4 separate regions of the Homo sapiens genome follow, and all the other regions are linked to region 1. Evidence: promoter capture Hi-C in 16 types of primary human blood cells and fetal thymus (Javierre and others, 2016). All regions are on one chromosome and are shown on one strand. The core of a region is centred on a gene start or on the middle of the fragment in contact, and the rest is flanking DNA. Distances in the headings are between cores, read along the strand shown. Region 1 holds the start of LOC105378258 (a long non-coding RNA gene). Region 2 holds the start of POP5 (POP5 ribonuclease P/MRP subunit). Region 3 holds the start of COX6A1 (cytochrome c oxidase subunit 6A1). Region 4 holds the start of SIRT4 (sirtuin 4).

The links. The method cuts DNA at HindIII sites, captures the fragments that hold promoters and counts their contacts. A CHiCAGO score of 5 or more calls a contact.
Region 2: a contact is called between the fragment with the promoter of POP5 here and a fragment that was not itself captured in region 1, in 11 of 17 cell types (total B cells, naive B cells, naive CD4 T cells and 8 more). The highest score is 17.2, in total B cells.
Region 3: the fragment with the promoter of COX6A1 here is called in contact with a fragment that was not itself captured in region 1 in 1 of 17 cell types (total B cells); the score reaches 6.4 in total B cells.
Region 4: the fragment with the promoter of SIRT4 here is called in contact with a fragment that was not itself captured in region 1 in 1 of 17 cell types (total B cells); the score reaches 6.6 in total B cells.

The regions. Positions count from the first base shown.
Region 1 is chr12:121,092,837-121,098,001 of GRCh38, forward strand. It overlaps LOC105378258 (a long non-coding RNA gene), which reads right to left and starts at 159. Exons shown (of 4, transcript XR_007063492.1): 1 at 1-159. RefSeq lists an enhancer at 248-749. The HindIII fragment of the contact is 3,941 bases long and covers 1,409-5,165 here.
Region 2 is chr12:120,577,042-120,582,728 of GRCh38, forward strand. POP5 (POP5 ribonuclease P/MRP subunit) reads right to left here and starts at 4,361. Exons shown (of 5, transcript NM_015918.4): 1 at 4,302-4,361; 2 at 4,074-4,216; 3 at 2,733-2,882; 4 at 2,473-2,556; 5 at 1,723-2,371. The coding sequence starts at 4,321. The coding sequence ends at 2,277. RNF10 (ring finger protein 10) reads left to right here. Exons shown (of 17, transcript NM_014868.5): 17 at 1-547. The HindIII fragment of the contact is 2,825 bases long and covers 1,563-4,387 here.
Region 3 is chr12:120,436,863-120,442,672 of GRCh38, forward strand. It overlaps COX6A1 (cytochrome c oxidase subunit 6A1), which reads left to right and starts at 1,251. Exons shown (of 3, transcript NM_004373.4): 1 at 1,251-1,367; 2 at 1,517-1,659; 3 at 3,592-3,868. The coding sequence starts at 1,265. The coding sequence ends at 3,675. It also overlaps the pseudogene LOC124903126. RefSeq lists enhancers at 1,288-1,497, 1,424-1,945. The HindIII fragment of the contact is 8,043 bases long and covers 90-5,810 here.
Region 4 is chr12:120,299,787-120,305,501 of GRCh38, forward strand. SIRT4 (sirtuin 4) reads left to right here and starts at 2,535. Exons shown (of 4, transcript NM_012240.3): 1 at 2,535-2,592; 2 at 3,775-4,272. The coding sequence starts at 3,776. The HindIII fragment of the contact is 5,713 bases long and covers 2,508-5,715 here.

The DNA of each region.
Region 1 (5,165 bases), core at 2,129-4,628:
GCCGCGGACTCTCGTGGCCAGTGTTACAGTTCTTAAAGGCCCCCTGTCTGGAGTTTGTTACTTCTGATGCTCGGATGTGTTTGCAGTTTCTTCCTTCCGGTGGGTTTGTGGTCTCGCTGGTTCCAGAGTGAAGCTGCAGACTTTTACAGTGAGTGTTACAGCTCATAAAAGCAGCGTGGACCCAAAGAATGAGCAGTAGCAAGATTTATTGCAAACAGCAAAAGAATAAAGCTTCCACACTATGAAAACGGGTCGGAGCGGGTTGCCACTACTACCTCTGGCAGCCTGCTTTTATTCTTATCTGGCCCCACCCACATCCTGCTGATTGGTCCATTTTACAGAGAGCCAATTGGTCCATTTTACAGAGAGCTGATTGGTCCGTTTTGACAGGGTGCTGATTGGTGCATTTACAATCCCTGAGCTAGACACAAAAGTTCTCCAAGTCCCCACCAGAGTAGCTAGATACAGAGTGTCCATTGGTGCATTCACAAACCCTGAGCTAGACACAGGGTGCTGATTGGTGTGTTTACAAACCTTGAGCTCTATATAGAGTGCCGATTGGTGTATTTACAATCCCTTAGCTAGACATAAAGGTTCTCCAAGTCCCCATCAGACTCAGGAGCCCAGCTGGCTTCAGCCAGTGGATTCCGCACGAGGGCCGCAGGTGGAGCTGCCTGCCAGTCCCGCAAGGTGCGCCCGTGCTCCTCAGCCCTTGGGCAGTCGATGGGACTGGGCGCCGTGGGGCAGGGGGCAGCACTTGTCGGGGAGACTCAGGCAGTGCAGGAGCCCACGGGGGCGGGGTGGAGGTTGGGGAGACTCAGGCTCAGGCATGGGGGGCTGCAGGTCCCGAGCCCTGCCCCACGGGGATGCAGCTAAGGCCCGGCGAGAAGTCTAGCACAGCAGCTGCTGGCCCAGGTGCTAAGCCCCTCACTGCCCGGGGCGGCGGTGCCGGCCGGCCGCTCCGAGTGCAGGGCCTGCCGAGCCCACGCCCACCTGGAACTCGCACTGGCCCGCAAGCGCTGCGCGCAGCCCTGGTTCCTGCTCGCGCCTCTCCCTCCACACCTCTCCACAAGCCGAGGGAGCCGGCTCCAGTCTTGGCCAGACCAGAAAGGGGCTCCCACAGTGCAGCGGCGGGCTGAAGGGCTCCTCAAGTGCCGCCAAAGTGGGAGCCCAGGCAGAGGAGGCGCTGAGAGCGAGCGAGGGCTGCTAGCACGCTGTCACCTCTCACTGGGGGGCCAGGCAGTCCTGCTCTTATCCCAAGTCAGTTTCCCACAGGAGGGATCTGCCCAACCTAGTGCTGGCTTTTTCAAGTGCTTCCTTTGCATATTCTAAATCAACTCAAAATGGATTAGAGACTTCAATGTAAGACCTGAAATCATAAAACTACGAGAAGAAAACACAGGGGAAAAGCTTCCTGACGTTGCAAACCGTACATCTCATAAGGAGGCAATATCAAGAATATATACGGAACTCATGGAACACAGTAGCAAAAAACAAATCACCTGATTGAAAATGGGCAAAGAACCTGAACAGATATTTATCAAAAGAAGACATATAAATGCCCAACGGGTGTATGAAAAAGTGCTCAACAGCACTAATCATCAGGGAAATGCAAATCAAAACCTCAATGAGACATCACCTCACACCTGTTAGAATGGCTATTATCCAAAAGAGGAAAGATAACAACTGTTATTGAGGATGTGGGGGAAAGGGATCACTGTACACTGTTAGTAAAAATGTAAACTTGTACAGCCATTATGGAAAATAACATCCATCCACAGATGAATGGGTGAGGGAAACGTGTCTACGCAATGGAATATTATTCAGCTCCAAAAAAGAAGGAAATCCTGCCATTTCCAACAGCCTGGATGAACCTGCTATGCTAAGTGAGATAAGTAAGCACAGAAAGACTAATACTGCATGATCTCAGCCTGGTACAGTGGCTCACGCCTGTAATCCCAACACTTCAGGAGGCTGAGGCAGGTGGATCACCTGAGGTCAGGAGTTTGAGACCAGCATGGCCAACATGGTGAAACTCCATCTCTATTAAAGATACAAAAATAGATTGTGGTGGTGCACGCCTGTAGTCCCAGCTACTCGGGAGGCTGAGGCAGAATCGCTTGAACCCAGGAGGCAGAGGTCGCAGTGAGCCAAGATGGCACCACTGCACTCCAGCCTGGGCGACAGAGCGAGACTCCACATCAAGAAAAATAAATAAATAAATAAATAAATAAATACTGCATGATCTCACTTATATGTGGAATCTAAACTAACCAAACTCATAGAAGCAGAGAGTAGAGTAGAATAGTCGTTGCCAGGGACTGAGGGTTGGAGAAAACGGGGTGTTGTTTAATGGGTATAAAGTGTCAGTTATACAAGATGAGTAAGTTCTGGAGATGTAACGTACAGCGTGTAACAACACTCTGTTGTATACCTGAAATTTCTTAAGAGAGTAGATCTTAAGATCCTTAACCACCCCACCTCCAAAAAAGAAAGAAAGTGGTAACAATGTAAGATGGTGGGTGTTTTAGTTTGCGGTGATCATTTCACAATGTGTATTAAATATCCGGTTGCCCACTTTAAATATATACAATGTTTACTTTTCAAGCATATTCAGATAAAGCTGGGGGAAAACAAACAGCTTTCTGGGGCCATTGTTTGCAGACCCCTGAGTTAGGGCATTGTGTGATGGCTGGGTCAATTTCACTTCAGCATGGTAAGAGGCACGTGACAAAAACTGGCATGAAAGGGGCTGTTGGAACCAAGGGGCAGGAAAGGGCTGCCCTATAGGATCCGCCAGAAGACAGACCGGCATTTCACGAAGTGAGCAAATTCCGGAGGAAATAAAGGATTTCCGTTTTAAGGGGTTGGGAGGCAAGAGAAAAGGCTGAGAGGGTGTGTGTGTCTGAAATGGGGTCTCTGGGTGAGAAAACGTGTGAGATAAAGTGCGAGGCTGGAAAAACGCGCACGTGTGCAGGAGGCGGGGATCTGCTGCACCGAGTGTGCACATTTGCACGAACCGTGGGGGCGTCTGCGGCTGTGGGTGGAGAGGAAATCCTGGATCACACATCTGAGAGAGGGGGTGTGGGTGGGAGTGGGAGAGTATGTAAGAGCGTGGGTCGTGACAGGTGAGGGACTTGTGTGTGCAACTGTGCGTCCTGCGAGAGTGAGGAGGTCTCGGACTGAGGAACTGCGTTCAGTGCTCAGTGGTGAGTTCCCACGCAAGAGCCTGGGGAGTCAACCAGAAAGACCCGCACGCGGGGCGGGCCCAGCGACCTCGGGCGCCATCTGCTGATTACCAGACGCCACTACCTGAGAAAGGCCCCTCCAGTCTCCTCATTGCCCAGCTGCGGACCCTAAGCTGAGCCATAACCGTCCTACCAACCCACGTCAGCAGAAGAGCCCAGTGGGAGGGCGTGTGTTCACTTCTGCTCCTCTGGGCAAAGACGCCCAGGTCAGAAACACCCACCCGACCCTCCCACTACCCAGAGACAGCCCCACCTGCACAGCTCAGAGCAGGACCACTGACCCTCTGGCTCTCCGGTCATATTTGCTATTGAAGACCAGAATAAAGTATTTTTATCAGGATTGAATACATGACTCATGAATGAATAAATTCATTCTCCTTACATATCGGTTCCTATTGAGAAATATGGTGGCTAGAATTTATTTCCTCCGGAAAGAGGAATAAATGTGGAGCCCCTGGGTTTGGTGCTATTTATTACCCATTTCTCTGATGTTGTAAGAAAAGAGAGATTCAGAAGAAATATCACATTTCAGCCCCGAACTTACGTAGCTTGCTGCCGTTCTAGGTGATTTACTTAGATTGGCTTCTGCATTTTGACAAATGAGGAAATTGGGAGAATTAAAGCCTCTGGTTTTAAAGCCTGCTGCTGGGTCAAGTAGAACTGTGACTTTTATTTTTTTTTTTTTAGACAGAGTCTTGCTCTGTTGCCCAGGCTGGAGTGCAGTGGCACAATCTCAGCTCACTGCAACCTCCACCTCCCGGGCTCCCTCAGCGATTCTCCTGCCTCAGCCTCCCAAGCAGCTGGAACTACAGATGCCCACCACCACGCACGGCTAATTTTTGCATTTTTAGTAGAGGTGGAGTTTCACCGTGTTGGCCAGGCTGGTCTCAAACTCCTGACCTCAAATGACCCACCCACCTCAGCCTTCCGAAGTGCTGGGATTACAGGTGTGAGCCACCGTGCCCGGCCCAGAACTATGACATTTTGTTTTTGTTTTTCTCTGTTTCTTTGAAAAGAAATGGAGTGAAGGTGCAGAGATATGAGATAAATTATTTAAACACATTATTATTATTGTTGTTATTATTATTATTATTATTATTATTATTATTGAGTCGGAATTTCACTCTTGTTGCCCAGGCTCGAGTGCAATGGCATGATCTCAGCTCACTGCAACCTCCACCTCATGGGTTCAAGTTATTCTCTTGCCTCAGCCTCCCAAGTAGCTGGGATTACAGGCATGCGCCACCACGTCGGGGTATTTTTTTTTTTTTTTTTTTTTTTTAGTAGAGATGGGTTTCTCCATGTTGGTCAGGCTGGTCTCGAACTCCTGACCTCAGATGATCCACCCACCTCGGCCTCCCAAAGTGCTGGGATTACAGGCGTGAGCCACCGCACCCTGCCTTAAACACGTTATTAAATCAGTAAAATGAAGGGCCTGACAAATAAATGACCACTGAGCTAGGATGTAGAAGACCAAGGCCTGGAAGAAGGGGAGTCTGCCTCTTCTGTCACTGGTGAGCTACGACCTTCCCTGCAGGCACACCCTACGCTGTCCTTCAGGCTGGCTCTCCATGCCCTCGGGGGCCTCGGTCCAAACATCTGGACAAAGGCCCTATGAAAGGACCTCTAACAAAATATTTTCCACCATATTCAGCTAGAGTTGCATGTTTTTCTATTTTTCCTAATGAGAACATAGGACTTGAGAACTGATCATGTGTCTTCGCTTTAATTTGAAATGATCAGAATAATCTGAAAAAAACAGAACTATTGTCCAGGAAATGAGAGAGAACTGAATTCAGTCACTTAAATATATAATCAAATCCCTTCCCCAGCCTTCCCCCACATGTGCTGGTTTTTTCATTCTCACTCTTCAAACTGATCACCTATTAATCATCTAAAACCACAACAAAATGCTTT
Region 2 (5,687 bases), core at 3,111-5,610, 510 kb before region 1:
CATGTCAGGGCTTCCTGGACTCAGTACACCTCTCAGTTTGTCTTTTAAAAAACAGCTGAATCTTTACTACCTATTTAGTTCTCCTTGTTAAAGAAACAGGGGTGGGAATAAAATGGATTTAGGACACCCAGTTTGAATTGCAGTTTTTTTTTTTCTGACACATGGCCAGGCTGTGGTGCCAGCTTAATGGAGTAGGCTGTCCTTGGCACTTGCATGTGTGAAAGGAGGGTTTTGCCTCTTCTTGAGCATGGCTTGAGTTGGTAAGGAAAGCTGTAACTCACGAAGCCCTGAGACCTGCTACCCCTAAGATCGAGCTTGTTTTCAGTGACTGGCTTGAGTCATAGGAGGAGGAGTCTGGTACAGCTGCAGGAGAGCAGGGCCATCTGAAGCGGTAGCATTGCCACCATCTCCCTCTCATCTAGAGCAGTTTTCTTATGCCTTGGTTTGAGCTGAATTTGATGTGAATTCTTTTGCTGCTTAATAAAGTGACCTCTAGGTGCATTAGAATGCGAAGGCAAATAGTTGCAATAAATCACCTGCACAAGCATTGTGAGCTTTTTGTTTTTTTAAGTTCATTACAGGTAAGCTAGACAAGTTATTTCTTGAATAGGTTAACGTGACAGCTACTATGATATTGTAGGCTGTCTTTTCTGGTGTCAGGTTTAAATGGTTCTAGAGCTGGGCTTAGCTTTAACCTGCCATTTTAAAAGAAATCCTATCAGGAAATTTCCTGGATGGATGAGGGTGTTCTGGCCTCCAGATGAGGGGGCATGTTGAAGCCAGAATCACCAGTGTTTCTGTTAAATGTGTATGGTACTTTCAGTCTCATCCATTGTATTATGGAGAAAACAGATCCCAGAAATGTCAGTAGGTAGCAGATCAAACCTGGATCACAAGTCTCCCGCCATTCCTACTTCCTGTGAGTATGGCAGTCTGACTTGTCTTCAGGGCGCCTTGTATTCAGGCGCAATAAGAGCGGAACTACAAAAACTACCTTAAGTTCCTTAAGTGGACAGCTGCTACATGACCATGCAGTAATGATGTCAGATGAGGCCAGCACCCGCGCCCCCCCCAACTGCAAAGGTTGCATTTTTTGTTTGAGACAGAGTCTCGCTCTAGCCCAGGCTGCAGTACAGTAGTGGGATCTCAGCTCACTGCAAGCTCTGCCTCCCGGGTTCACGCCATTCTCCTGCCTCAGCCTCCTGAGTACCTGAGATTACAGGCACCCACCACCATGCCCAGCTAATTTTTTGTATTTTTAGTGGAGACAGGGTTTCACTGCGTTAGACGGGATGGTCTTGATCTCCTGACCTTGTGATCTGGCCGCCTCAGCCTCCCAAAGTGCTGGGATTACAGGTGTGAGCCACTGCGCCCGGCCCAAAGTTGTATTTTTTAAGTTACCTGATTAACTATTGGCAAGGAATCTGGTATCTGTAAGACCCTGTGGTTCAGTACTGAGATGGGCTGTAGATCTCTGCCAGTTCAGTTGCTGTGTCTCAACTAATATTTCTATTCCAAATGACTTGGCTTGCTTAGGGCCCATCATGGGGCCGGGGGTACAAAGCTTCAGGTAGAAGGCTAAGTATTGAAAATTTAGGCCAGGCACAGTGGCTCACCCTTTAATCCCAGCACTTTTGGAGGCCAAGGTAGGCCGATCACTTGAGGCCAGGAGTTCAACAGCAGCCTGGCCAACATGGCAAAACCCCGTCTCTACTAAAAATACAAAAATTAGCCAGACGTGGTGGTGCACGTCTGTAATCCCAGTTACTTGGAAGGCTGAGGTGGGAGAATTGCTTGAACCCAGGAGGCGGAGGTTGCAGTGAGCCGATACTGGGCCACTACACTCCAGCCTGGGTGATAGACTGAGACTGTCTCAAAAAAAAAAGTTTAACTAGTACCACATAGGGAGTCAGTCTTCCCACCAAGGCTAGGGATAGAGAGAGAACAGAGACTTGGCCAAGCATGGACTCCATAAGCCCTTTCTGTAATATAAGTATGCTAAATGCCACGGAAACCAGATACATTTATTAAATCTACTCTTAGCCAAGCAATAAAGATGTCTACAGAGTTCACAACCTGCAACACTTCACCAGGGAATGCTAGGTAAAGGCAACTTCAGTTTAACTGAGTACTCCATTTCAAGTGGGTAATGTCTGCTGGTTGGCAGCTATCCAGTTTGGAAAACTGTGGAAGATGCTGTTGCTACCCAGATTGTTCTGTTCAACAAGTGGGCCTGAAGCCTGAGCAGTGTAGCCAGCTGTGTGGGGAGCAGAGGTTCACTCCATTGCTTCTGCAGCCTCCTCACCTGACTCCTCCTCCTCCTCTAATAAGCAGCTTCTTGTCACAGACTTCTGGATAGCTTCCCGCTCTCCTGGAGAAGGCAGATAACAGGGATGAAAGATATCTTTGGGAGTGATTTCTTCAGCTTAAGGTCAGTCACTGCTCAGTGGGCACTGGGCTAGTGTTGCTTACCTTCATCAGTGCAGTTCTGCAACAAGATCAACAGCTGTCTCCTGTTGTACTGAATTAGGAACTTCTGACATGTTCTTATTGTACCTGGCATATGAGTTACTGTGGTCAACAGCTTGTGAAAGATCTCGACCTTACAGACTTTCAGAGGTAGGGGGAAGTGTCTTGTTAGCGGGACAGCAGCAAGACCCACCCACCAGTTTAGACTGAACTGTGAACGTGTCACCAATTGAAAATCAGTAGCCATACCACCTCACTCCTACCTCCCACATGTAATGTGTTGAAAAAGCATGGGTAACGGTGTCCTTTGTTCTCCAAGTATGTGATGAAGGGAAGAGCTGACCACACAAGCTGATAGAATTCTTTTCTGCATCGAAGTAGCACTATTCCAGTATAGGCATTGAGATATCGAACTACAACAGGAAAGAAAAATCATTTTGGAAAACTTTTGCTCTGTGTGGTGGCTCACGCCTGTAATCCCAGCACTTTGGGAGGCTGAGGCGGGCAGATCACTTTAAGTCAGGAGTTCGAGGCCAGCCTGGCCAACATGATGAAACCCCGTCTCTACTAAAAATACAAAAATTAGCTGGGTGTGGTGGTGCGCACCTGTAATTCCAGCCACTCAGGAGGCTGAGGCATGAGAATCGCCTGAACCCAGGAGGCAGAGGCAGCAATGACCCCCGATCTCGCTGCTGCACTCCAGCAGCCTGGGCAACAGCCAGACTGTCTCGAAAAAAGGAAAACTTTGGAGTAACAGAGCCTACTATGTGCCAAAAGTATGTTGTAGGCAAGTGGCACGTAGATCTATCAGCGAGTAAAAGAGAAAAGCCAAAACACCCACTGTGTTGCACACCACTCAGAACTGGTGAATGAATTTAGAATTGAAAATGCTTTCTAATTCACTAGTTAATTCAATAAATAGGAGCAGGTAGGAGGCGATCCGTTTTAATTTAGGAAAAACCCCCACAAAACCCTTGCCTGAAAAACAGGCTGTTTTACTGCATTTGGGCTCCGTAATTATTGTAGCAGTCAGCTCTCAGTCTCACCTGACTTAGGAGAGTTAAGTCTATCTGCATTTAACTCTCCAGAAGTCAATCTCAAACAAGGTTAAAGTGGGAACTAATTTAAGTGGTGTGAAAGAAGGGCCCCTCTGTCCTAGCTCATCCTGTATTTACATATATTGACAATCATGTGTTCTGTACTTTACCAACTATTTAAGGGCTTTCCCGGAGTACTTTTGACAATTTTTTTCCATATGATGTTAATGTAATCGGTCATATAATAGCTCTTACTAGGAAGTATACACAGCTTCCCTCATTTAATTCTCTACCCTATCAAATTCAATCACAACCAATTACAGAAATTACCTGTCAAGCAGGTAAAAAGAGGCTTCTAGCTCAAAGCCCCACTGCCTTCGGGCCCCTCCTTTTAGCGCTCTGCTAATTTCGGACTCTCGCTTGGGGTCCCAGGCGCTTAAAGAGATACCTTACAAAAAACGGTGCACGGGCTTGGCCACTCGTGCCCCTTCTTTCTTCCTCCGGCGCCTGCCCCCTCCACATCCCGCCATCCTCCCGGGTTCCCCTCTTCCCCCAGCGCCCTTGCACCCGCGAAGCCGATGGAGCAGGCGGCTGCGCCGAAAGTTCCGTGCACCCTGGCGATCGTGTCCCGTACGAGGCTGCTCAGAACTCGGTCATCGAGGCTTAGGCGGCAGCGGGGGTCGTCAGACACCAGTTCGCAGAGCAGGTACCTGCGGCAGGCGAGAGGAAGGTGGACACTAGCGGGGCCGCGAGGACCCAGCAAGGCACTGGGAGGGTCTGGAAGGGAATGCTTACCTGTGCTTGAACCGCACCATGGCTGCCTCCGCGCTCTCCGGTCCGGCGTGCAAACCGGATGTGAATTCTGTCCGCTGCCAATGGGAAGCTTGCTTCCGCAGCCTTTCAGCCATTCAGAGAAGGAGACAGGATATTAGGGCGGAGCTAGAAAGTTGAGAGGCCGAAGTCTGTCAGCTCTCTCAAGCCCCGCCCAACTGCGTTTGTAAGCGCGCATGCGTCCTGCGGAGGGTCACTGACTAGTTTGAGGGCTGAACCCCGGGATGGAGCGCCTTGCAGCTGTAATGGATGGTTCTGTTGCACACTGAAGTTTACAATAGTGTGTAGGATGTAGCCGCTACCCTTGGGGCCCTGGGAACCTTGCACCACAGTTATGTATGCGAGTATATTCTCTCCCCAAGGTGAACGGTGGAGCTTTTGAGGGCAAGACCCTGCACCTCACAGCCCAGGCATTGACAAACGGGAAATCGGACTTTTATTTTCAGGTTTGAGCTCAGTTTAATTCTTCCATACAGCTAAATATGCTATTGCTGTTTGGGCCTTTCAGCAATCTTAGGGAGGCGAGTGTGCCGTCTCGTTTTTTGCTCGCAGAAACAATACGTGGTCATTGTATTTTCCATTTCCGTTTACCTTTTTTTTTTGACAGAAAAGCACAAAGAAGCAAATAAATTATAATCCCAGCACTGAGAGAGAATAACTGTTGTCGTGTAGTGTGTTTTCTTCTGTCATTTTCTCCCTGCGCCAGTGGTTCTCAAAGTGCCGTCTGGGGACCACTGAGATTTCCTAAATTCACTCGATTTGGGAGTCCCCGAAGTCAAAATTACTTTCATAATAATGCTAAGATGTTACTTGTCTTTTTCATTCTCTCTGAGTGAACAGTCAAGTTTTCCAGAGGCTGCTTGACGTGATGACGTCACTGCTCTAGGAATTGTGTATTGTTTTTTAAACGTTTCTCAACTTTAATGTCCATAGTAAATATAACCCACAAAACTAAAAGCTCTTGGGCACCCTCAGTAACGTGTGTAAAGGGGTCCTGAGACAGAGAAAACAGCTTGAGAACTATGCCCTCTGTTAAATTATGTTTTTTCTTTTATTTTTAAGTATTTTAAAAAAAATGTCTTATGGGGTATTACATAAAGTACATATTCTTAAGTGTATTCATCTCAATGAATTTTTACATATGGATAGACTTCTATAACCACCTCCAAGATTAAAATAAAGAGCATTTCCAGTATCCCAGAAGGTTCCCTGAGCCCTCTTCCAGTCAAATTGCTTACTGCTATCAGCCACTATTACCACTTCTACCCTGCTAGATTAATTTTGCCTGTTCTTAAACTTTATATAAATGCAGCCAGGAGGCTGGCTGCAACCTCTGCCTCCTGAGTTCAA
Region 3 (5,810 bases), core at 1-2,500, 660 kb before region 1:
GCTATACTGTGTGTTTACACATAGGTGTGTCTTTAGAGGAAAGGGTTCAAAGCTTTCATTAGATTCTTTTTTTTTCTAATAAAGAAAAAAGCTTTGTTGCCCAGGCTGGTCTCAAACTCTCAAGCTCAAGCAATCTGTCCGCCTCGGCCTCTCAAAGTGTTGGGATTACAGCCATGAGCCACCACGCTGGTCCTCATTACATTCTCAAAGGGGCCTATTGAAAAAAAAAAAAAAAAAAAAAAAAAAGGCCGGGCACAGTGGCTCACGCCTGTAATCCCAGCACTTTGGGAGGCCGAGGAAGGCGGATCACAAGGTCAGGAGATGGAGACCATCCTGGCCAATATGGTGAAACCCTGTCTCTACCAAAGTACAAAAAAAAAAATTAGCCAGGCATGGTGGTGCGTGCCTGTAATCCCAGCTATTCAGGAGGCTGAGGCAGTAGAACTGCTTGAACCTGGGATGCAGAGGTTGCAGTGAGCCAAGATTGCACCGCTGCACTCCAGCCTAAGCAACAAGAGTCAAACTCCGTCTCAAAAAAAAAAAAAAAAAAAAAAAAAAAAAAGATGAGACTGTTGAGTCAGGATTAGGATCCAGGTCTGCTGGCACCAATTTCAGTGCTCTTTATACTTTCTGTTGCTATTCATTCATTCATCCATTCATTCAGCAAATTTATATCAAGTATCTGGTATGTGCCAGGTATGATTCCAAATTACACCATTCCCAGATTATTCTGAGAATGCTGCAGTGCCAAACTCTTGGTATCACAGACTTTATATTCTAGTGGGGGAGACAGACAAAATAATAATATAACGACGAAGGTGCAATGTTATGTGCTATGAGAAAACGCAGTCGGAGGATGGCGAGGAAGGGGAACGGAATTTTAGATAGGGCGGTCTGGGATCAGAACCTCCAGATGCCCGTCCATGGACTCCAACGAAGGGAGCGATTCCAGGTACCAGGGCACCCTGCACAAACCTCTCTTGAGCTTCCGCCTCGCCCAGGTGGGGACGGTAGGGAGACCGGAGGGCACACGCATGCGCACGAAGGAAACGGTAAAGCCTGAAGGGAGGTGCAGAGCGCATGCTCTCTCTTGCCCGAGATGCCGAGGATTTTGACAAGGACTCCGTCGTCCCGGATGATAGTGCTCAGGTTAATGCCAGTGGGAGGGCGGCGCCCAATAGTAACTTCCTTTGGAGGTTGTAGTACCGCCCCCAGAGCCAATTTTCCACTTCCGCTTCCGGCGCTGCGGCAGTCCAGATCAAAAATGGCGGTAGTTGGTGTGTCCTCGGTTTCTCGGCTGCTGGGTCGGTCCCGCCCACAGCTGGGGCGGCCTATGTCGAGTGGCGCCCATGGCGAAGAGGGCTCAGGTACTGGGGCCGGGGTCGACGGGTCGAGCCTCAGCCCCACTCGGGCGAGACAGGGAGGGACTGTGACCTTGGCCCGAGGCCTTGCGGGAGGGAAAGTGAGACCCGGGCCCGCCCCATACCGGCGCTGAACGTTTGTGGCTTCTCCGCAGCTCGCATGTGGAAGACTCTCACCTTCTTCGTCGCGCTCCCCGGGGTGGCAGTCAGCATGCTGAATGTGTACCTGAAGTCGCACCACGGAGAGCACGAGAGACCCGAGTTCATCGCCTACCCCCATCTCCGCATCAGGACCAAGGTACGCCCTTGTACATCTCTTCAAGCGTCCGTTCTCTTTTCGTTATGTGTGCCTTAGTGCAAGTTCTTCATTCTCTGAAGGCATGGGTGCCAGGCGTGTACAGCTTGTTTATCCTCACAAACAGAAAATGTATTTTCTTCCATTTTGTGGATGGACAGCTGACACTTGGGATTACGTCTCAATTCTCTTCTTCAAGGTCATACAATAAGTGCTCTTCAGTTTCCCTTTTCTCCGATTCATCCTACCTCCTGCCTTCTGAGACAGTTCTTTTTTTTTTTTTTTTTTTTTTTTTTACTTCTGAGACAGTTCTGAAACAGGTGTCCGTTGTGTAAAGCCTGGAGGTTTGGGAAATCCAATTAGAGTGGCAAAGTCTGAAGGTGGTTCGCGTAAGCGAACCCAGCAGCTACATGGGAGGCTGAAGCAGGAGAATCCCTTGAACCTAGGAGGCGGAGTTTGCAGGGAGCTGAGATCGTGCCACTGCACTCCGGCCTGGGCAACAGAGCGAGACTCTGGTCTCAAAACAAAACAAAACAGCAACAACAAAACATGGGCATCTGGCAGCTACTAGTTGCATAATGAAGAGACTGACAGCTTTCTCTATTCCCCACCAATACCTTTTCTCGACTGTTTTATCATTGGTTGTTGATGTAGATATATTACAATGTTGTGTCCTCTGTTGTTTGCTGTATCTTTAACAAGGGCTTATTCTGATTCTTCAATACTGGCCATGCGCGGTGGCTCACGCCTGTAATCCCAGCACTTTGGGAGGCCAAGGTGGGTGGATCGCCGGAGGTCAGGAGTTCAAGACCAGCCTCGTCAACATGGCGAAACACTATCTCTACTAAAAGTACAAAAAGTAGCCGGGCGTGGTGGCGGGCGCCTGTAATCCCAGCTACTCGGGAGGCTGCGGTGGGAGAATCTAGGAGGTTGAACCCAGGAGGAGGAGGTTGCAGTGAGCCAAGATCCAGCCATTGCACTGCAGCCTGGGCAACAGGAGTGAAACTCCGTCTCAAAAAAAAATAGTAATAATATACTTGATCTTAGCCAAAAGGCCGAGAAGTGATGAAAAAAGTTATTATTATTATTATTATTATTACATCACCTAGCCCATATAGGACTGGCCTTGTAGAAACTTAACCTAGACTCTTGAATTTGTTGAGTCTTTGAGCGGCACTCCCATCCTTGTACAATGCAATTAGAAGCCAAACAGTAAAGGTTTCTCAGCCTCAGCACTGTTGACATTTGGGGCTGGGTAATTCTTGTTGGGGGGCTATCTTGTGCATTGTGAAATGTTTAGCCATATCCTTGGCCTGTACCCACTAGGTGGCAGTAGTACCTGCGCAACCCCACTCCCGCTTCCCCCTCCCCCGCCCCCATCACAGTGTCTCCCGATACTACCCAGTGTGCCCTGAAGGGGCAAAATCACCCTGGGTTGGAGACCGTTGCCCTAAAGTAATGCTTTTCAAAGGTAATAGGCAAGATAATTCAGGGTGGGCTGCAGTTTCCCAGCCCAGATATTGTTTGAAGTCTGGGATGGTGCCAGAAATCTGCATTTAATTAAGCATCTCCCTCCCCTAATACTGCCACCATTTTGATATAGGTGATTTGAGGATTACACTTTCATAAACACAGCACTGGATATACTAGTTACTAGGGAGAGGATGATGAGTAACTAACTTGAGCTTGCATTTTCTGCCATCCATATTTGTTTCTGGAATTAAAACTGTCCTGTAGCCAGGATAACTTTAAGGGCTCCCCTGGTAGTTATAAGAGCTCCTTAAATAATGGGAAGGTTGAACTACACCAGTAGATAAAGGACTAATTTCCATTTTGTTTTTATATATGATCTGTCACCCCGTTATAAGCAGTTCATGACGGTGTTCTTTCTAAATTATTTTCTGGAATTATCTAACTGACATCTTCACTCCACAGCCGTTTCCCTGGGGAGATGGTAACCATACTCTATTCCATAACCCTCATGTGAATCCACTTCCAACTGGCTACGAAGATGAATAAAGAGAATCTGGACCACTACCCGGGCACCAGGGACCACAGCACTGGTTTGGACCGTTACTCTGCACATGGACCAGAAAAAGTATATGGGACCTTAAGCTCACCTTCTTTACTTGTATCAAATGATGACTGGTATACTGGTCTCCCATCCCTTTGCTTGTGGCAGGAGATGGCTTAAATAAATAACTTAAATTTAGATTGGTCATGAGCTGAGAGTTACTTTCTTTGGTTGTGTTTTTTCGCAGAAATTAGCATTTGAGCTTCAAGTCAGTGTCCAAGTTGAAAAGAAATTGGCATTAGTTATTTCTGTTTCCACAGTGAAGGTCTAGGCTGCTGTTTAGTGTTACAGGTCCAATTCAGCCCATTGAATAAGTGTTTATAACAGCCCCTCTTGGTTTATTGTGCCTGATGTGGATAAAGGGACCAAGTGGAGTGGTGCTAATTAAGCATCAAGATTAGTCCTTGGTCAGGTGCGGTGGCTCATGCCTGTAATCCCAGCACTTTGGGAGGCTGAGGCTGGCAGATCACCTGAGGTCAGGAGTTGGAGATCAGCCGGGCCAACATGATGAAATCCTGTCTCTACTAAAAATACAAAAATTAGTTGGGTGTGGTGGCGCACTCCTATAGCTGGGTGTAGAGGCTTGAACCCGGGAGGTGGAGGTTGCAGTGAGCCAAGATCGTGCCACTGCACTCCAGCCTGGGCAACAGAGTGAGACTCTGTCTCAAAAAACAAAAGATTGGTCCTTGACGGGCCTGAGATATCAAAGACATTGAATGGCTAGCAGAATGCCTGCAATTTACACCTGAAAGAGGTATCTGTATTTCTCAAGAGGAAGTGCTTGATCTGGGTCTCATCTTTTTCCTGTCCCATTCCACTAGCATTTACTGCAGAATCTTCCCTGTAGTCATAATTTTCTTGAACATGTCAAGTTCTTTTTTTTCTTTTTTTTTGAGACGGAGTCTCTCTCTGTTGCCCAGGCTAGAGTGCAGTGGCACGATCTCCACTCACTGCAAGCTCTGCCTCCCAGGTTCAAGCCATTCTCCTGCCTCAGCCTCCCGAGTAGCTGGGACTATAGGCACCCGCCACCACACCCAGCTAATTTTTTGTATTTTCAGTAGACACAGGGTTTCACCATGTTAGCCAGGATGGTCTCGATCTCCTGACCTCGTGATCCACCCGCCTCAGCCTCCCAAAGTGCTGGGATTACAGGCGTGAGCCACCGTGCCTGGCCTCGAATGTGTCAAGTTCTTACTTTGAGGTAATCTCCTTCAGGGCTGGTAGGGTCAGAAATCTTAAGAGAAACAAAGGGAGCGTGACACATTTCTGCTTATTGGCTTTTCTGTGGAATTAAAACTATCCTGCTTTAATGGATAGTAAATGGTAGTAGTAGTAGTTACAAAACCACTCTGAGAGGGCAATTATTATTATTATTATTATTATTATTTTTTTTTTTTTTTTTTTTTTTTTGAGATGGAGTCTCGCTCTGTCGCCCAGGCTGGAGTGCAGTGGCGGGACCTCGGCTCACTGCAAGCTCCACCTCCCGGGTTCACGCCATTCTCCTGCCTCAGCCTCCCAAGTAGCTGGGACTACAGGCGCCCGCCACTACGCCCGGCTACTTTTTTGTATTTTTAGTAGAGACAAGGTTTCACATGTTGGCCAGGCTGGTCTTGAACTCCTAACCTCAGGTGATCTGCCCACCTCAGCCTCCCAAAGTGCTAGGATTACAGGTCTGAGCCACTGTGCCTGGCCAGAGCTGGTTTATTTTATTTTATTTTATTTTTTGAGACAGAGTTTCGCTTTTGTTGCCCAGGCTGGAGTGCAATGGCATGATCTTGGCTCACCACAACCTCCACCTCCCAGGTTCAAGCAATTCTCCTGCCTCACCCTCCTGAGTAGCTGTGATTACAGGCATGTGCCACCACACCTGGCTAATTTTTTGTATTTTAAGTAGAGATGGGGTTTCTCCATGTTGGTCAGGCTAGTCTCAAACTCCCAACCTCAGGTGATCTGCCCACCTCAGTCTCCCAAAGTGCTGGGATTACTGGCGTGAGCCACCGCGCCCAGCCAGCTGGTTTATTCTTAAGGCTCAAAGGAACACTTTCGTGGTAAGGTTCAAGAGGCAACAAGGTATTTCATA
Region 4 (5,715 bases), core at 1,285-3,784, 790 kb before region 1:
ACAGAGGTATCATCACTAACCCCATCAGACATTATCTTGTGCAGGAAAAGGCAATGACCAGAGTCATTTATCTTTTAATGAATATAGTGACTTGGAAGAGACATGGAGGGCTGTGTGCTCTATTCTGTTTTGTCTTCAAAGCATCTTTCTGGAGAGCTGTATGTTGTCACAGAGTCAGGGGCTTCATGAAACGATGCTGCCAAGTCGAAATAAGCAGGCCCGGCATGGTGGCTCACACCTGTAATCCCAGCACTTTGGGAGGCCAAAGCAAGAGCTTTCCTTGAGTTCAGGAGTTTGAGACCAGCCTGAGCAACATAGTGAGACCGTGTCTCGACAAAAATAAAAAATAACAAAATTTAGCTGGGCGTGGTGGTGGATGCCTGTGATCTCAGCTACTCGAGAGGATGAGGTTGGAGGATCCCTTGGGCCTGGGAAGTAGAAACTGCAGTGAGCTGTGATGTCACAACTGCACTCCAGCCTGGGTGACAGAACGAGACCCTGTCTCAAAAAAAAGAAAAAAAAAAAGCAGAAATGGGCAAACTACTAAATGGTCATTTTGCCAATATTACCTCCAAAGATACAATGATAGAACCAAAAACCTAAAAACTCTTTCTCAAGCTTCCACATTACTTCTCTGCACTTCAGTTCATCTTTATTTATTATTATTATTTTTTGAAGAGATGGGATCTCACTTTGTCACCCAGGCTGAAGTGCAGTCGCACAATTATGGCTCACTGCAGCCTCGATCTCCTGGGCTCAAAGTGATCCTCCCACCTGAGCCTCTTGAGTAGCTGGGACTACAGGCACACACCACCACACCCCGCTAATTTTGTTTATTTTTTGTAGTGAGTGGGTCTCACTATGTTGCCCAAGCTGGTCTTGAACTTTTGGGCTCAAGTGATCCTCCTGCCTTGGCCTCCCAAAGTGTTGGTATTACAGGTGGGAACCACTGCACTCAGCCCAATTCATCTTAAAATGGGGGAAGGGAGTCCTTAGGTGGTCTTCAAGGTCCCTGCTGGCCGCCCACCTTTATGTCCAAAGACACTTATACATTTATTGATTTAGGTGATGCTGCAGAGCGGCAGTTCTGGTTGTCTACACATTAGGAACAATTAGGAAATTTGTAGATCAGAATCCCTGGGAGTGAGACGCAGGCCTTGTTTGATTAACTTAATAAAAAAAATATGATAAATAAAATTGGAGAAGCCAAGCAGGTTAAGTACATTAGTCCAGGTATAATATATTTGGCTTCATATTAACTGTAAAAACATCACTTTTGGCTGGGCACAGTGGCTTACGCCTGTAATCCCAGTACTTTGGGAGGCTAGGGTGGGCAGATCACGAGGTCAGGAGATCAAGACCATCCTGGCTAACATGGTGAAACCTTGTCTCTACTAAAAATAAAAAAATTAACCGGGCGTAGTGGCATGCGCCCATAATCCCTGCTACTCAGGAGGCTGAGGCAGGAGAATTGCTTGAACCCGGGAGGCGGAGGTTGCAGTGAGCCGAAATGGCACCATTGCACTCCAGCCTGGGCAACAGAGCGAGACTCCGTCTCAAAAACAAACAAACAAACAACAACAACAACAACAACAAACTATCACTTTTTCAGATATGTATAAACACATTTCTTCACAAGTTCAAGGTATTTTACCAATAGCAAATAACTTGATACTGTCGTTGTGAATGAAAAGGATCACAAACTCTGATGTTTAGAATGAGTCAAATCTAGGCCGGGAACAGTGGCTCAGGCCTGTAATCCCAGCATTTTGGGGGGCCGAGGTTGGCGGATCACCTGAGGTCGGGAGTTCGAGACCAGCCTGGCCAACATGGTGAAACTCTGTCTCTACTAAAAATACAAAAACTTTAAAAAAAAGTCAAATCTAGATCCATGATTAATGACGTGCTCATTTCACATTGCATGTTTGTATCAAAACATCTCATGTGGGTAAAGCATAGACAGGCACAGAGAAAAGAAAAAAAGACAAAAAATAAGAGAAAAGATGGCCGGGCGCAGTGGCTCACGCCTATAATCCCAGCACTTTGGGAGGTCAAGGCGTGCGGATCACCTGAGGTTAGGAGTTCAAGACGAGCCTGGCCAACATGGCGAAACCCCCGTCTCTACTAAAAATACAAAAATAATCCCAGCTACTCGGGAGGCTGAGGCAGGAGAATCGGTTGAACCCGGGAGAGGGAGGTTGCAGTGAGCCGAGATCGTGCCACTGCACTCCAGACTGGAGTTTTTTCAAAAAAAAAAAACAACAACTCCGTCTTAAAAAAAAAAAAGAAAAAAGAAAAAAAATCTTATGTACACTATAAATATATACACCTACTAAGTGCCCACAGAAATTGAAAACAAAGAAAAAAATCCATGATTAAAAGCTTTTATATTAACGGGGGAACCTCTGACCAGAAAGAGCCGACAGGGGGCGTTCCTGGATGATCTGGGGCTGTCAATTGCGAGACGCGGAGGATTGTGGGACTTGTGGTTTTTCTCGCATCATTTAAGCTTTCTGGACTACATGTCCCAAAATGCAAATGCAATCAGACGGTCCCACTGTGGGGTGTGAAGTGTCCGTAGAGCTGTGAGAGGTAAGTGTGTTCTGTGTGTGCTGCGGATTTCTAGAAGTTGTGGATTTCTTGTGAGGGATTCTATTTCTCCTCTTTGCCCTCGGTGGGACCTGGAAGAGAGTAGTTGTTCCACTGATGCACGTTTTCAGCGGGGGTTTCCCCTGACCCTTTGGTCTCGGGAAACCGGACTGTGTGTTTGTTCAGCTGTTCACGTTTTGCTGTGGAATGTCAAGGAGAAAGCGGGGTCCTGATCTCAGATCTGGAAAGCCAAACATAAAATAATGTTTACATACGGGGTGCATGTCACTAGAGGATTTATGCATTGCATTGTGTCAAATAATATGTCAAAGTTTTTTCTTTTTCTTTTTTTTTTTTTTTTTGATACGGAGTCTTGCTTCTTCGCCCAGGCTGGAGTGCAACGGCGCGATCTCGGCTCACTGCAACCTCCGCCTCCCGGGTTCAAGCAATTCTCCTGCCTCAGCCTCCCTAGTAGCTGGGATTACGGGCACGTGCCACAATGCCCGGCTAATTTTTTTTGTATTTTTAGTAGAGTCGGGGTTTCACCATGTTGGCCAGGCATGTCTCGAACTCCTGATCTCAAGTGATCTGCCTGCGTCGGCCTCCCAAAGTGCTGGGATTTCAGACGTGAGCCACCGCACCCGGCCCTCTATTGTTACAGCTAGAAAAGCTGACGGGCAGGGGTCTTGTCTCTCTGATGTGTCCAAGTAGCAGAGCTTGCAGTGGAGGGTAAACTAAAATAAGGGGGAAATGAAAAAATAAAAGGAATGCGTGTGTGTGCTTAATTACATGAACAAAATCAAACAAAACCTGACTCATTAGGGCCAGACTCAGAGGCTCACACCTGTAATTCCAGCACGTTGGGAGGCCGAGGCGGGCAGATCACTAGAGCTCAGGAGTTCGAGACTAGCCTGGCCAACATGGTGAAACCCTGCCTCTACTAAAAATACAATAATTAGCCGGGCATGGTGGCCATGTAGTCCCAGCTATTCTGGAGGCTGAGGCAGGAGAATCACTTGAACCCGGGAGGCGGCGGTTACAGTGAGCCAAGATCATGCCACTGTACTCTAGCCTGGGCAACAGAGGGAGACTCTGTCTCAAAAAACAAAACGAAAACAAACAAACAAAAAATGAGAAAAAAAAAAAACCACCCCAGTTTCTCACATGAGGCTTCTTTTTCTCTAGAATGAAGATGAGCTTTGCGTTGACTTTCAGGTCAGCAAAAGGCCGTTGGATCGCAAACCCCAGCCAGCCGTGCTCGAAAGCCTCCATTGGGTTATTTGTGCCAGCAAGTCCTCCTCTGGACCCTGAGAAGGTCAAAGAGTTACAGCGCTTCATCACCCTTTCCAAGAGACTCCTTGTGATGACTGGGGCAGGAATCTCCACCGAATCGGGGATACCAGACTACAGGTCAGAAAAAGTGGGGCTTTATGCCCGCACTGACCGCAGGCCCATCCAGCATGGTGATTTTGTCCGGAGTGCCCCAATCCGCCAGCGGTACTGGGCGAGAAACTTCGTAGGCTGGCCTCAATTCTCCTCCCACCAGCCTAACCCTGCACACTGGGCTTTGAGCACCTGGGAGAAACTCGGAAAGCTGTACTGGTTGGTGACCCAAAATGTGGATGCTTTGCACACCAAGGCGGGGAGTCGGCGCCTGACAGAGCTCCACGGATGCATGGACAGGTGCAGGAGCTGTACACGGTTTGAACGCAAACCCGTGTGTTGTTTTGGGAGAGTAGGGACCTTGGCTGTCTTGATCACCACAGTCTTAGACCTTGAGAAAAGGATTTCAGAGCAAGTTGTTTATTTTGCAGTTGATTCCAGTAAATTCATTGACGGAGCAAGGATGTAAAACAGGAAAGAGAGGAAAGCCAAGAAAGTGTGTGTTAATGAGTGGGTTACTGCCTTGGGCACTGGGGTTCAGTCCTGTGAGGGACCCTCCAACTGTCTAGGACATGCCTGAGGATTGTCTCAATGAAACTTGAGGACTGGGGCCGGGCGCAGTGGCTCACGCCTGTAATCCCAGCATTTTGGGAGGCTGAGGTGGGCAGATCACATGAGCTCAGGAGTTCGAGACCAGCCTGGCCAACATGGTGAAACCCCATTTCTACTAAAAATACAAAAATTAGCCAGTCGTGGTGGCACATGCCTGTAATCCCAGCTGCTTGGGAGGCTGAGGCAGGAAAATCTCTTGGGAGGCAGAGGTTGCTGCAGTGAGCCGAGATTGCACCACTACACTCCAGCCTGGGCAACAGTGCAAAAAAAAAGAAAAAAAGAAAAAAAAAAGTTGAGGATGGTGCACAGTGGCTCATACCTGTAATCCTAGCACTTTGGAAGGCTGAGGCAGGAAGATTGCTTGAGGCTAACAGTTCAGGACCAACCTGGCAAACACAGTGAGACTCTGTCTCTATATAAGTAAAGTAAATTTTATATATATATATATATATATATATATATATATTTTTTTTTTTTTTTTTTTTTTTTAAAGAAAGTTGAGGCCGGGTGTGGTGGCTCACGCCTGTAATCCCAGCACTTTGGGAGGCCAAGGCAGGCAGATTACCTGAGGTCAGGAGTTCAAGACCAATCTGGTCAACATGGTGAAACCCCGTCTCTACTAAAAATACAAAAATCTGTTGGAAGTGGTGGCACGCACCTGTAATTCCAGCTACTCAGGAGGCTGAGGCAGGAGAATCGCTTGAACCTGGGAGGTAGAGGTTGCAGTGAGCTGAGATCATGAGCTGAGATCATGCCACCACACCCCAGCCTGGGCAACAGAGCAAAACTCCGTCTCAAAAAGAAAAAAAAAAAAGAAAGTTGAGCAAGCTAGGGTGATTTTCTTTTATTTTCTTTTGTGTTTGTGTGTGCACGTGTGTGTGTGTGTGTGTGTGTGTGTATGACAGGCTTTCACTCTGTCACACAGACTGGGATGTGGTGGTGTGATTATAGCTCACTTCAGCCTCAATCTCTTGGGCTCAAGTGATCCTTTCACCCCAGCCTCCTAAGTAGCTGGGACTACAGGCAAACGCCACCGTGCCCAGCTAATTTTTAATTTAATTTTTATTTTTTGTAGAGACGAAGTCTTACTATGTTGCCCAGGCTGGTCTCGAACTCCTGGGCTCATGTGAT